5 separate regions of the Homo sapiens genome follow, and regions 1, 3, 4 and 5 are each linked to region 2. Evidence: promoter capture Hi-C in 16 types of primary human blood cells and fetal thymus (Javierre and others, 2016). All regions are on one chromosome and are shown on one strand. Each heading gives the region's core, a stretch centred on a gene start or on the middle of the fragment in contact. The rest is flanking DNA. Distances are from core to core; before and after follow the strand shown. Region 1 has its middle 8.1 kb from the start of KTN1-AS1. Region 2 holds the start of NAA30 (N-alpha-acetyltransferase 30, NatC catalytic subunit). Region 3 overlaps KTN1 (kinectin 1). Region 4 overlaps TBPL2 (TATA-box binding protein like 2). Region 5 overlaps PELI2 (pellino E3 ubiquitin protein ligase family member 2).

Evidence for each region. The method cuts DNA at HindIII sites, captures the fragments that hold promoters and counts their contacts. A CHiCAGO score of 5 or more calls a contact.
Region 1: a fragment that was not itself captured here is called in contact with the fragment with the promoter of NAA30 in region 2 in 1 of 17 cell types (naive CD4 T cells); the score reaches 5.7 in naive CD4 T cells.
Region 3: a fragment that was not itself captured here is called in contact with the fragment with the promoter of NAA30 in region 2 in 3 of 17 cell types (naive CD8 T cells, total CD8 T cells and total CD4 T cells); the score reaches 6.2 in naive CD8 T cells.
Region 4: a contact is called between a fragment that was not itself captured here and the fragment with the promoter of NAA30 in region 2, in 1 of 17 cell types (naive CD8 T cells). The highest score is 5.5, in naive CD8 T cells.
Region 5: a contact is called between a fragment that was not itself captured here and the fragment with the promoter of NAA30 in region 2, in 1 of 17 cell types (non-activated CD4 T cells). The highest score is 5.1, in non-activated CD4 T cells.

The regions. Positions count from the first base shown.
Region 1 is chr14:55,570,669-55,573,368 of GRCh38, forward strand. No RefSeq gene overlaps it. Among named protein-coding and RNA genes, the nearest start is that of KTN1-AS1, 8.1 kb to the right of the region's middle. The HindIII fragment of the contact is 5,752 bases long and covers 1-2,700 here.
Region 2 is chr14:57,389,260-57,391,959 of GRCh38, forward strand. NAA30 (N-alpha-acetyltransferase 30, NatC catalytic subunit) reads left to right here and starts at 1,327. Exons shown (of 5, transcript NM_001011713.3): 1 at 1,327-1,446; 2 at 1,698-2,469. The coding sequence starts at 1,699. RefSeq lists an enhancer at 1,311-2,306 and silencers at 1,435-1,574, 1,705-1,854. The HindIII fragment of the contact is 6,905 bases long and covers 1-2,700 here.
Region 3 is chr14:55,587,547-55,590,246 of GRCh38, forward strand. The region is part of intron 1 of KTN1 (kinectin 1); the gene reads left to right. Among named protein-coding and RNA genes, the nearest start is that of KTN1, 8.7 kb to the left of the region's middle. The HindIII fragment of the contact is 2,445 bases long and covers 185-2,629 here.
Region 4 is chr14:55,430,473-55,433,172 of GRCh38, forward strand. The region is part of intron 4 of TBPL2 (TATA-box binding protein like 2); the gene reads right to left. It also overlaps a transcript of FBXO34 not described here. Among named protein-coding and RNA genes, the nearest start is that of TBPL2, 8.8 kb to the right of the region's middle. The HindIII fragment of the contact is 5,799 bases long and covers 1-2,700 here.
Region 5 is chr14:56,123,150-56,125,849 of GRCh38, forward strand. The region is part of intron 1 of PELI2 (pellino E3 ubiquitin protein ligase family member 2); the gene reads left to right. Among named protein-coding and RNA genes, the nearest start is that of PELI2, 6.1 kb to the left of the region's middle. The HindIII fragment of the contact is 1,845 bases long and covers 500-2,344 here.

The sequences.
Region 1 (2,700 bases), core at 132-2,631, 1.8 Mb before region 2:
CAAGCTGCCTAGGACTAAGGGATTTTCCAGCATGTGAGACTTTGAGTGATATAACTGAAAAAGTCTCAGACAAACTGGTATGAGATGGTTAATGCAGTTACAAGAAAATCAAGCAGGGGTCAGATCCCCTTGGTAGTATGGATCCATGATTCCAGTAAGAATAGCATATCCCTTCTCTGTCTGTTCGGTGGCTGGAAAAACACATAAACGACCACCTGGAAGCCTCAACTGTCAGATCAAATAGGATATATTTATCTCCTGATAGAAGTCTTCCTCCCCTGGCATCCAAGACCTCTAAATATGCAGAGATTAATAGGTATAATAATAAGAGCTGGCGGGGCACGGTGGCTCATGCCTGTAATCCCAGCACTTTGGGAGGCTGAGGTGGGCAGATCACCTGAAGTGAGGAGTTCAAAACCAGCCTGGCCAACATGGCGAAACCCTGTCTCTACTAAAAATACAAAAATTATCCCAGTGTGCCGGCACACGCCTATAATCCCAGCTACTCGGAAGGCTGAATCAGGAGAATCACTTGAACCCGGGAGGCTGAGGTTGCAGTGAGTTGAGATTGAGCCACTGCACACCAGCCTGGGAGACAGAGCAAGACTCCACCTCAAAAAAAAAAAAAAAGAAAAAAAAATTAAGAGCCATTCTCACTTCTTCCTTTTGGTTTCTGCACCTATATATTTTGTCTACAGATTTTTTAAAAAGTCATACAGATTTGTAGCTGATTTGGAGCACACATATTGCATCTGGTAGAACAGCACTCTAATGCCTCGGTCTCTGTCTCTCATTTGTCACCAAAGCTGTTTTTTTGATAGCCATTCCAACCATTCTGTAATGTTAGCTGCTGCTTGTGAATTCTTTGCCCATTGTCTCACTCTGCTGTGATTATCAGTTTGTCAGAAGCAATGGTGTGTGGTGTGTCAGAAGAGCCATGTGGATGAGGTTTCGACTGAAGTCAAGGAAAGAGAAGCATTTCAAGAAGTGATCAGTGCTGTCATATGTAACAGAGAGGTTTTACCAGATGAAGACTGAGATGCTTCACTAGAGTTAGCAGCAAGAATGTCATTGGTGACTTTGGTGAGAAGTGTTTCAGAATCTAGTTGTGGGTACAGAAGCATAATATGAGGAGTGAATGTGAGTGAAAATACTCAGTCAAGTAAGTGACTCCTTTTGTTTTTTTTTGAGACGAGGTCTCACTCTATCACCCAGGCTGGAGTGCAGTGGTGTGATCTCAGCTTACTGCAACCTCCACCTCGCGGGCTCAAGTGATCCTTCCACCTCAGACTCTGGAGTAGCTGGCACCACAGGCACACACCACCATACCAAGCTAATTTTTGTATTTTTTGGTAGAGATGGGGTTTTACCATGTTGCCCAGGCTGGTCTCAAACTCCTGAGCTCAAGTGATCCACTCACCTCAGCTTCCCAAAGTGCCGGGATCACAGGTGTGAACCATCACACCCATCCTAAGTAAGTGACTCTTAATTAACCAGTCAGCCAACCAACCAACCAACCAACCAACCAAAAACCTGGCTTTGCAAGAAATGAGGTAGATGGGGTGATCTGGAGTTGGAAGTAACTTTTTTTTTCCCATTTAAGTGGAGAGAGCTCTCAATGCACTAATGACTGACAGAGAGGGAGAGGTTGGAAATACAGACAGAAAGGGCATTGCTGATGGAGTGAGGTCCCTGAGGGGGCTGAAAAGGCTGACATCCAGAGCTCTGTGTCATGAGACTTGGCATCTAGAGAAATTATTCTACAGCCTTCATGGAATAATGATTTGTAACAGAGCTTGGAATCTATTTGCTTTTTCTCATAAATAGAAAATTTCCAAAACAATATACAGAAGTACCAAAAGGTGGCTTTAAAAAAATTGTTGACTCAGAAGAAATTGGTATACTGGAGATGTGGTCAAAAATAAATGGAACAAAGCCTATGAAGGTTAACAGAGCTGTCATGCTACAGGGGGAAAAACACTGGGTAAGGGCTGGCTGGGGTCCAAGTGTTATCACAAAGGAACTGAATAGGAGTCAGTAAACAGGAGCGAGGGTTAAAATGTGAGCACCACTTCAGAGGACAAAAATTTTTGAATGCATGTTTTACATTCAAACACCTAACAGGATGCTATGCACGTTATAAATATTTGCTGACTTGATTTGATTTGTTGCTACTGATCTGCCCTCGCCTGGTCATATTAAGAGTTATTTGGACAGCAGTGGTGATGGTTTATGCTGACATATCGACATTCTCTAGCCTGATTCCTCAGGCCAGGTTTATCCCTGCAACATAGTTGGTCAGGATGAAGGTTGTGCAGGCAGTGAAAGAGAACTTTTTTGTTTTTCTTTTATATGACACATATATGACAGCCTGCTGCCTGTATGTTGACCAAATTTTTTATTTAGGCCTTGTTGAAGAGCTAATACTGATCACCTAAAACTGATCTAACTTTCCAAGCAAATAAAACTTGTCAAGTGAGGACTAAAGAACTACAAAGTAACCTTCCATTACTGGGAGCATTCTTTAGGGATCTTACTAGCAAAAGTGTAGCATTCATTATTAAAGAGAGCCATGGAAAATCTTCCAGAGACTTCCCCAACCACACCCCAACCCCCCAGAGAGGAGGAGAGCACTAGCAGCATAAGATGCATGGGTAATTAGATTAGAGGATAAAGACTGCAAGGCTGATTTTTAATAAA
Region 2 (2,700 bases), core at 77-2,576:
AAAGCCCAAACCAATCAATGCTAAAAGACCACCGGGAGAGGTCTACATGGACTAGAACTGAGGCCTCCAGCCTTTATCCTGCATCAACCATCAGCGGTGAAAGTGAAGTTTTCAAATAATTCTACTCCTCAGCCTTAGAGTCTTCCAACTGAAGCTCTACGCATAATGGAGTAGAGAAAAGCCATCCCAGTTGTGCTCTGTCTGGATTTCAGAGGCACAGAATCTGCGAGCATAATAAATACTTTATACATAGAGTTTAGATTACGGCAAAAAGTTGCAAACGTGTTCCGTCATAGAATTATATATTGAAAACGTCCATCTGCGGCACACCAGACCAGCTCTATAAATCAGGTTTTTAACAAAACCGAATTTGTTCAGTGAGCGGGTGAGTTACACTACCTGTCTCAGCTCAGACCTGCCGGGAGTCAATTGTGGACTAGAGCAGAAGGCGCCCAGCCACAAGCTCAAGTTCTATCCCCTTTGCACTCGATAGGCAGATCCCCTGGGAGGATCAGGCCACCTGTTTACCAGTGCTTCCTAACCTATTTGTGTCACAAGTTTAGGAGTGTGCTTCTTAGCCCTGGTCACTCTCTTTCACCACCTCTCTCTAACCCTTCCCCAGGTGTGCTAGCAATTGCCCAACACCTGTCAGTCACTTTTGCCTCCAATTTTACTGGGTGCGAGGAGCAGAGTAAGGAGGGAGAGGAAGAGGGCTGACTCCCTTGCCTCAAAGTGGCAAGGGCCAGCTGAACTTAATTCACACTGCAAACCACCACGTTTCGACAGCCATCCCCATATTTTCACAGCTCAAATCTTCCTTTCTTTTTCGGTCGGCTTCTCTGATTTGCTCCATTTTTAATCGCTCCTCCCCCATCCTCCTTGCCCCTGGTCAGGGCAAACATTAAACGCTGTGCAGCTTTAAAAGGGCATTTTTAGGTGACTTGTAAACGGCTTGTTCCACAGGCCCCGAATTGGCGAGATTCGCTACAGCTCGGAGTGCGCGGTAGACTTTAAGCAGGGAGCGCCTGCCCGGTCCATCCCTCCCCGGCCCCGCGTGGCAAGCACCGCAGGTTGAGGCGCCCCCAAACCGAGGAAGAGGGTTTGGGAGCCTGTGACTCCAAAGCCCTCTGCAACTTCCCGGCCCCACAGCCCCACCCACTAGCACGCGGCCTTCCCCGCAGCCCGCAGGAGACACCTTTGTCCCCGCCCCTCCACAGGTCACCTCCCTCCACGCCCCTCTCTCTTGGCCCGGGCAGCCGGCAGGCAGGGAAGTGTCGTAAAGCCAGGCCCAGGAAACTTTACCCGGCCTAACAGCTGAGGCGCTTTACGGCGACGGCGGCTGAGTGAGAACCTTGGCGGCTGTGGAGGCTGCCGCGGCTGCGAAGGAGGCGGCGGCGGTGGCGGAGGAAGAGGAGTGGCGGCAGCGGCGGCGGGGACCCGTGCGGGGTGAGCCGTGAGGAGGGGCCGCGAGTGACAGGGCTGGCGGGTGGGCCCGGGCGGACGGGGACGGTGGCCGGCTGAGCAGCTGGGCGGCGCTGAAGAGCGGGGGGGTGGCGGGGAATTGGGGGGCAGCTCCGTGAGGGACGGTTTCTGCCTTTGTTCCCCCCACCTCGGCCGCCCCCCATCCGTCGCCCCCTGTTCTCCGCGCTCCTCGGCCGGGTTTCATGGCCTCCCCTCTCGGTCTGTGTCGCTTCTAGGATGGCGGAGGTACCGCCTGGGCCTAGCAGCCTCCTCCCACCACCAGCACCTCCGGCCCCGGCGGCGGTCGAGCCCCGCTGTCCCTTCCCGGCGGGGGCCGCCCTCGCCTGCTGCAGCGAGGACGAGGAGGACGACGAAGAGCACGAAGGCGGCGGCAGCAGGAGCCCGGCGGGCGGAGAGTCGGCGACGGTGGCGGCCAAGGGGCATCCGTGCCTCCGCTGCCCTCAGCCGCCGCAGGAGCAGCAGCAGCTCAACGGATTGATTAGCCCCGAACTGCGGCACCTCCGGGCGGCCGCCTCCCTCAAGAGCAAGGTCCTGAGCGTAGCAGAGGTGGCCGCGACCACAGCCACCCCTGACGGAGGCCCCAGAGCGACTGCAACAAAAGGAGCCGGGGTACACTCGGGCGAGAGGCCCCCTCACTCCCTCTCTAGTAATGCAAGAACTGCGGTCCCCAGCCCGGTGGAGGCAGCGGCGGCGAGCGATCCCGCGGCGGCCCGCAATGGACTGGCCGAGGGCACCGAGCAGGAGGAGGAGGAGGAAGACGAGCAGGTGCGGCTGCTGTCTTCGTCCCTGACCGCCGACTGCAGCTTAAGAAGCCCTTCGGGCAGGGAGGTTGAGCCTGGGGAGGATCGGACGATACGATATGTCCGATATGAATCCGAGCTACAAATGCCCGATATCATGAGACTGATCACCAAAGATCTGTCCGAACCCTACTCCATTTATACCTATAGATATTTTATCCACAACTGGCCACAGCTGTGCTTCTTGGTAAGTGGATAGAATAAAAAGAGGGTGAACCCAGCAGTGATCGAGACTGTGCGGGGCAGGGAGTGAGGGCCCAGAATGTGGCAGTGGATATCTCCTGCTGCGTATCATAGTACGTTATATGATGTCAAGTGCTGTACACATTCCTAGTTATTTAATGAAATTGTTTTGAAGGTAAGACTTCATGATTCGGGTTAACGTGATACTAGTGTAACTGCAGCAAGCCTGTATGGT
Region 3 (2,700 bases), core at 157-2,656, 1.8 Mb before region 2:
TTGCCTTAAATCTGTAATATCCACACAGGTTGAATTCACTTACGTGCCACCAACCTGTACTTGCCTACTTTATTGGGAAGTCATGTTCATTTGAAATGTTTCCGTAATTACTTTACGTAGTTTTCATAATCTGGGTCTCTTGAGGTTGGCTGAATGTCATGATTTCTGTAAAGGGAATTCCTCAAGCTTGTATTTAGTGCTCTTATTTCTGGGTACAGTTTCAGGTGCTGTGCTGGATAATCTTTGTGCTTGGTACTCTATTGCTGGAGAATCATTTCTTAAATAGCTTCCAGTTTGACTAGATGTTTGCTGTAATTTTAAGTTTAAATTGAATCCTTTTGTAAAAGTGGCTTAATTCTTTCACTCTTTTTTTTCTTTTAGTCTAAATAATTGGATTTAGTTTTAACTTGAAGTATTTCTGAGCTTGAAAATTCTGGAGCACTTTTCAAGTAAAAAATACAGCTGACCTTTGGACAATGTGGGAATTAGGGGCACTAGCACCCTGTACAGTCAGAAATGTTTGTATAACTTTTGACTCTCCAGAAACTTAACTACTAGTACCCTACTTTTGACTGGAAACCTTACCAATTACATAAATAGTCAATTAACATGTATATTGTACGTTATATGTATTATATACTGTATTCTTATAATAAAGCTAAAGAAAAGAAAATGCTACTAAGAAAATCATAAGAGACTGTGTATTTACAATACTGTACTGTTTATTGATACCATAAGTTTATATCATCTGTAAGATGAATCATCTGTCTGAAACAGTGAGCAACTGTAACTGCAGACCTCAGTCTAAGTACATATCAAGTAATTCAACTTTTCCTTGTCATGACTTTTCTCTGCTTCTCGGGAGCACTTCCAGCATTACTAGTGGCACTTGGCATGGGTCTCATGGTGTTATTCAGGGTTTACAGTGTTGTGCTAAAAATGATGAAAAATATGCGAGAACTATGATCACTTTTTACTGTGATACTGTTACTGGAAGGACAGAATGCTCATGTGGAGATAATTAGAGTCATGGATAGGAGTCAGGGATACTTCAGACACTTGAGCTCACAGTAATACCAACAGGAGGTGGCCACAAAATTATTACAGTGGTACAGTATGTACTGCAGTTAATTTTATGCAGTTGTGATTTGGTACTGTATCTTGACCTTTGTTTACATTTCCATCTATTGCAAATGGCACCATGTACAGTAACCATATAGGGTCTGGTTTGTGTAAGTTTTGATAAATTTTAACTTTATTATTTGTGTATATTTTATGGTAGTAAATTATGAAATAGACTGGGATCTACATATATTTTATGCATTCATGACATTTTTCTTAATTTTTTTCAATATTTCTAGGCTGTGGTTTCCCTGTGAGTTTTTTTCATATTGTTGCAGTCTCCAAAAAATTTTCCAATATAGTTACCGAAAAAAAAATCTGCATGAAGTGGACCCACACAGTTTAAACCCATAGTGTTCAAAGGTCAGTTATACATTCAAGATTAGCCTTGGAATTATACATAAAATACAGCCGAGGCATTTACCTTGTCTGAGGTTTTGGGGAGAAAAGAAGTAATTCATAAATATAAGTTAGTTGTAAAGTGATGAAAGCCGAATTTTTGTCTGCTCTTTTAGGATTAATTACCTGGCATAAATTGGTAGTTATATTTCATATCCTTTCAGTGTTATGTAACCTTCATTTAAGCAGAAAGTCCTGGCAGCATTCAAAATAACATACTACTTTTGGTATAAAGAGATTCTTTTTTTTGAAACGGCGTCTCGCTCTGTCACCCAGGCTGGAGTGCAGTGGTACAATCTTGGCTCACTGCAACCTCTGACTCACTGCAACCTCTGCCTCCTGGGCTCAAGCGATTCTACTGCCTCCTGAGTAGCTGGGATTACAGGCACCTGCCACCAAATCTCGCTAATATTTGTATTTTTAGTAGAGATGGGGTTTCATCTTGTTGGCCAAGCTGGTCTCGAACTCCTGAAATCAAGTGATCCACCTGCCTTAGCCTCCCAAAGTGCTGAGATTACAGGCATGAGCCACCATGCTGGGCCAGAGATTCTTTAATTATTATTCTTGGTTACTATATTCATCTGATTTCTTTTTTTTTTTTTTTTTTTTGAGATGGAGTGTCTCTCTGTCGCCCAGGCTGGAGTGCAGTGGCACGATCTCTGCTCACTGCAACCTCCGCCTCCCAGGTTCAAGTGATTCTCCTGCCTCAACCTCTTGAGTAGCTGGGACTACAGGCATGCATCACCACGCCCAGCTAATTTTTGTATTTTTAGTAGAAACGGGGTTTCACCATGTTGGCCAGGATGGTCTCGATCTCTTGACCTTGTGATCTGCCCACCTCAGCCTCCTAAAGTGCTGGGATTACAGGTGTGAGCCACTGCACCCAGCCTTATTTATCTGATTTCTTAAGGTAGCTTTGTAATAAGTAAAAACAAAACAAAACAAAAAAAACCACACATACAAACCTAGATATTTTCTGTAAACATTTTTAATAGATTTCTTATTTTAAAGGACTTTTCTTTTTGGGGAAAATTTCTTCCAAAGTAGGAATAACTTTCTACAATTATTCAGTGCTTTTATTGTAATTGTATAAGTTAAGAAGCAGGGAAGCTTATGCCTGTTTGCTTGTTTGTTTTGATTTACATTTATCTCTTCCTACTTGTCTTTTTATTGTTTTAT
Region 4 (2,700 bases), core at 98-2,597, 2.0 Mb before region 2:
CATAGCTCACTGCAGCCTTGAACTTCTGGCCTTAAGTGATCCTCCTGCCTCAGCCTCCTAAGTAGCCTGCAGGGGCATGCACCACCACACCTGCCTAAATTTTTATAGAGACAGGGTCTTGCTGTCTTGCCCAGGCTGGGCTCAAACTCCAGGACTCAAGTGACCCTCCCAACCTCAGCCTCCCCAAGTACTGAGGTTACAGGTGTGAGCCACTGCACATGGCCATCTGTTGATCTGGTATCTACTCACTAGATTGACTACAGCTGCACAGCACTGCCCTTGGCTCTCTTCACCCACTTCTCACTCTTGAAATGTCCTTAGCAAGGCCATGTCCCCAGGTTAGCAGTAAAATAAACTGTTTCCATTTTGAACTACATTTTGCCTAACTAATCTATTACATTTCCCGTAATGTAAATAAGTTCAAATTTGTTCAAGTTTGCATAGTCCTGTAGTTTCTTGGGATATCAGCTGTGATATTCTAAGGACACAGAAGTTTCTATTGAAACAACTAATAGTTGAAAGTCTATATACATGTTCATTGTACAAACATTAGAAAGTAGTTTAAAAATCTTAAAATCTCACCCATACTGGTGTTAACTACCTAAATTTGATCTTCTGCACTTTTCCTACGCAAACACAGGTATCCCTCATACTCTTGCTGTTACAACAAAAGAGAATAGGTTTGGATAAAATGTGGAGATAATACTGGCACCTCTTATTAACTAAATTCTCACAACTCACTATCCAAAACTTCAAAACCAAATATATTTGGATAAAAAGTATCTCTTATTATCTGAACTCATTATCCAAACTTTCACTATCAGATTTTAGGAATAAATTCAGATAAGAAAAGACACTCATGAATGTGTGTAATATGTGTAACATGAGCATATTTTACAATGAAAGTTGGATAACAAACACCATTTAGCTGCTTACTTCTCCCTCTGCAATCCAACTTAATACAATGTGACCATCCTTTCAGCTCAGTATGTGTACTATATGGCTAATACAATTTTACTTTATGACTTCAAATTGAAACCCTATTATTAATTAGGTTTTCCCTGTTCTATTGCTGAAATGAACATTATTACAGACATCTTGCACAACTGTCCAATAATCACTTTAAAATGGAGATTCCTGGGATCAACATAAGAGAAAGTCCAGCAATGTACTCAGACACATGTGAAGAACTTAATATGTAAAAACAGATTGGGGGAAATGTAGTAACAATGGATCCTTCAATAAATGTATCTGAGTACCGACTGATCATTTGGGAAAAATAATTATCTTACATTGAAACAAAATTCTAGATCTGCTCTGTCCAATTAATATAAATTCAGTCCCTCAGTTGTATTAGCTGTATTTCAAGTGCTCAGTAGCCACATCTGACTAGTGGCTATATCATTGCATTAAACAGTGCAGATATAGAACATTTCCATCTAGAGAAAGCTCTAAGTGAATCAAAATACCAGCTATCCTTTTCCTATCACAAAGCAGGACCTGAAAAAGACCAAAAAATATATGAAAGTCAATATTTGTATAATACTGTGCACAAATGCCTTAAGGGCAAAGCCAAATGTAGAAAACAAAGAAAAAAATGGGATAAAATGAGTATACCCTTCAAAATTTGTGTTTTTTAAAAAACCCACCATAGGCCAGATGTAGTAGCTCACGCCTGTAATCCCAGCACTTTGGGAGACCAAGGTGGGAGGACTACTTGAGCCCAGGAGTTCGAGACCAGCCTGGGCAATATGGGGAAACCCCCGTCTCTACAAAAAAAAAAAAAAAAAATTAGCCAGGCCTGGTGGTGCATACCTGTGGTCCCAGCTACTTAAGAGGCCGAGCTGGAAGGATGGCTCCAGCCCGGGAGGTGGAGGTTGCAGTGAGCCCAGATCACACCACTGCACTCCATCCTGGATAACACAGTGAGACCGTGTCTCAGAAAAAAAAAAACAACAAATAAACAAACAACAAAAAAAACACCATAAAATACCATAAACAGTAATCTGAGAAAAAATATTTACAGTATAAAATGGTGAAAATAGTTAACAAAACAAAAACAAAAGATAAATCTCTCCATAGATAACTGAGCAAATGACATAGCAATTTCTGCACTTCTAAAAAGTTATTTAATCTCACTAGTAAATCAAAGAAATGTAAAACAATGTAACTTTTTGTCAATCAATTTAGCAAATATAAAAAGAATATCGACACCCAGTGTCCACAGGATAAAATGAACACTTAGTACATTTATAGAGCGAGAAATTGGCACAACTTTTCAGGAGGAGAATTTGCTTCTTATCTTTTAACACCTACAGGAGAAAACAGGCTCTGCCACTACAGAGTTATGGTGAAAGAATACCCATCAACACAGGGCTTCCTCTGCGTGAGATCCAGGAGAGATGAGATTTTTAAGGGATGCCTCCTGAGCTAATGCAAGCTAATGCTCAAGGAATGTCTAATTGAGCTCCTTTAGAAAGTTCTATCCATTTATCTGCAATGAGGAAAATCCACAATAACTACTTCCCCAGACTTATAACACACTTCATCATTACTGTAACTTAAAAAAAATTCACCTTAGAAACAAGTTGTAGCAGCGCAGTTAAGTCCCCTCGGTTTAATAGGGGAAACTGTAAAATGGGGATATGTCAGTATTTTATTATTTTTTTTAATAGAGACAGGGTCTTGCTCTGTAACTCA
Region 5 (2,700 bases), core at 172-2,671, 1.3 Mb before region 2:
GGTATAGTAGCTTGTAGAGTTTATGGTCTTTTTTTTTTTTTTAAAAGCAGGTCCCACTTTCTGTATGCTTTTTGTTGTTGCTGTAACCTCAGCACTTTGCCTTGACTACTCCACCCTTTGGTGGCAATAAGAAACCTTCAAATATACCCTAACACTTTTCCTTTTCTCATCCTCCACTCTAATTTGGGCCCAAAGACATCAAACATTAGTATCTTTTATAGACTAAAAGGTCTTTGAACTTTAAAAAAATTTATAAAACAAAATCTTTACTGTAGCTCAGCATGTGGGGTGATCTGAAGAGCTCAGATCTGTTTGTGTGGATGGAGTGTCTAATTCTGTGGGCTATTAAGGGTTACGGTGTTACTGGCTTTGAGTTGCTATATTTTCCTTTACTAACTTTAGCCTTGTTTGGAATATGTGGCTGTCTGTGTTGCTGTGTGGTTTCTGGTCTGGCTTTCTCAGATTTATTTATTTCTCTCTTTAACACACCAAGACTGAAAGCTTCATTAGGTCTTTTCATTTCTGGTTGTGTTTCATCCTGTGATCAATATTTGGGGATGCTGTGTATAAATGAAAGTAAAACAGGCTTGATTCAGGTTCAGTAATTTTACCAAACATTTTATCGAAAAGATAAAATACTTATGCACAAAGGACCAAAACAAAACAAAATAGCCGTTGCTATATTTGAGGAAGACCAATATTGTCACATTGGAGCACTGGTTTTATATCTGCTGTGCAGGGCTTGCAGTGTGGCCTTCCTGAAAGTAGGTATATGGGGTTGTAGGTTGGCTTTTGAATGGAGACAACAGCAACTTGGTAGACCTCATTGGTATGGGAGAAAAATAACTGTGAAAAGGAATTTATAATGTCTTTTGATTTAATTAAACGTTTCTCCTGGGGTGTGCAGAAATCTATTTTATAAAAAGAAAAGTAAAGGTTAGAATAATTCAGTTATTAGTTCTTACTGAGCTTATTGTCACCTTCATCTTCTGGAAAATAAAATAATAAGAGCAGAAAGTGCTTCATATTTCTTAGCTTTGTCTAAATCACCTGTTCTCAACCACTGTCTCAAGTACCTCATATGTGATGATCAGTCTTGAGGGTATGTGGCCAGTAATTTATGACAAGTAATAAAGTGTGGATCTTTCAAATGATTCAGATATGTCATGTTAATAATGTCATTTTTCACCCTTTTGCATTCTGATGTGTTTTCTCAAGTGGGAGAGAAAGGGGTGGAGTTACATCAGGCAAGCCAGGAATGTATGCATTCAGCAAATATTTATTGGCTGTCTACTCTTCCAGGCATGAGGAATACAGCTAGGACAAGGCAGACACATTCCTTTTCCTGGTGAACTGCTCTCTTATTTTTGTCCCAGCCTCTTTGTGAATAACCGTTACTGATACATGGTTCATTTATTTATTCCCCAAATATTTGAGCATCTGCCACTTGTCAGATGCTGTGGATTGCACTAAGGGATACGCAGATGAACAAGACAGTCATGGTCCCTGCTGCTGCAGCACTGACAGCCTAGCTGGAAGACCTGAAGGCTGGGATGGTGGATGTGTTAGCAGGGTCCCCTAGCCATGTGCCAGGATGAGATGGGGATGACCACGATGGAGATAAGAGGGAAGGAGTGCTTTCCGAAGAAGGTTTGGAGTATTCTGCAACCTAGAGATGAAAACGTGCAGCTACTTTGAGGAACAGAGAAACACTCTTTATGGCTAGGAAAGAATGATTGAATGAAACATTGTGAGGGATGATGATGGGGGGATATCATGAAGGGCTTATAAGATATTGGAAGGGGTTTGGACTTTACCCTAAGAGCACAGGAGACTGTCTCAGGGTTTTGCTAGTATGAGATGGGAGTGAAGAAAGCCCTCTGCTCTTTGCAGAGTGGAGTTGGAAGGCACAGTGGAGTTGGAAGGAGAAACTGAGGCTGCAGCCCAACAAGGCAGAGAGAGAATGGAGTGTGAGCTAGAGGGCAGCTGTCTTGCTTCTAGTTCCTGGTTCGGGTACCTCCTGAGACCTAGTTTCGTGTGATTGACCATTCATTCAGTGACTCAAGATACTGACTGAGGACCAGCACTGCTCCCAGCCCTGGGCTACACCAGCAAACAAGACAGACAGCTGCCCTTCCTGCCTGCTTGGAGCTTACCTTTTTTTGAGAGAGGTGAGCAAGCAAAGGAGTAGATAAAAAATGGAACTTCAGAGACTGCTGGGAGGAAACTAAAGCAGGATAAGGAGGAAGAGAGTTATTGGGTGGGCAGGGGGGGGGTGAATTGGCAGGGTGAAATGCTAGGGATAAGGTAGTGGGGGATCCTTTTGGACAAAATAATCAGGAAAAGCTTTTCCGAGAAAATAGTCCTGTGTCCTTTGAGAGTCCCCACTTCTTTCGGTTTTTACTTACTTTTTTTTCTGTTTAAGCCACCTTGAGTGGGTTCTGCTCTTTCAATCAGAAGATTCCAAGTATCCCGTTAAGAGGCAACGTATATAAGCAATTTACTGAAGGGAAAAATAGAAGTGTAAACAAATACAAGGGCAGATAGTTAAGTATCCCTGGACAAAAACGTGGTTCTGCCCTCTGTGCTGCTTGCCATGTGCCCAGAGTGGCCATTGAATTCCACCAGAGCGTATTGCCCCTTGAGGGTAGGAACCTTGACTTCCCCCCTCCTTGGAATGCTGGGCTTCCCTTTCTGGTG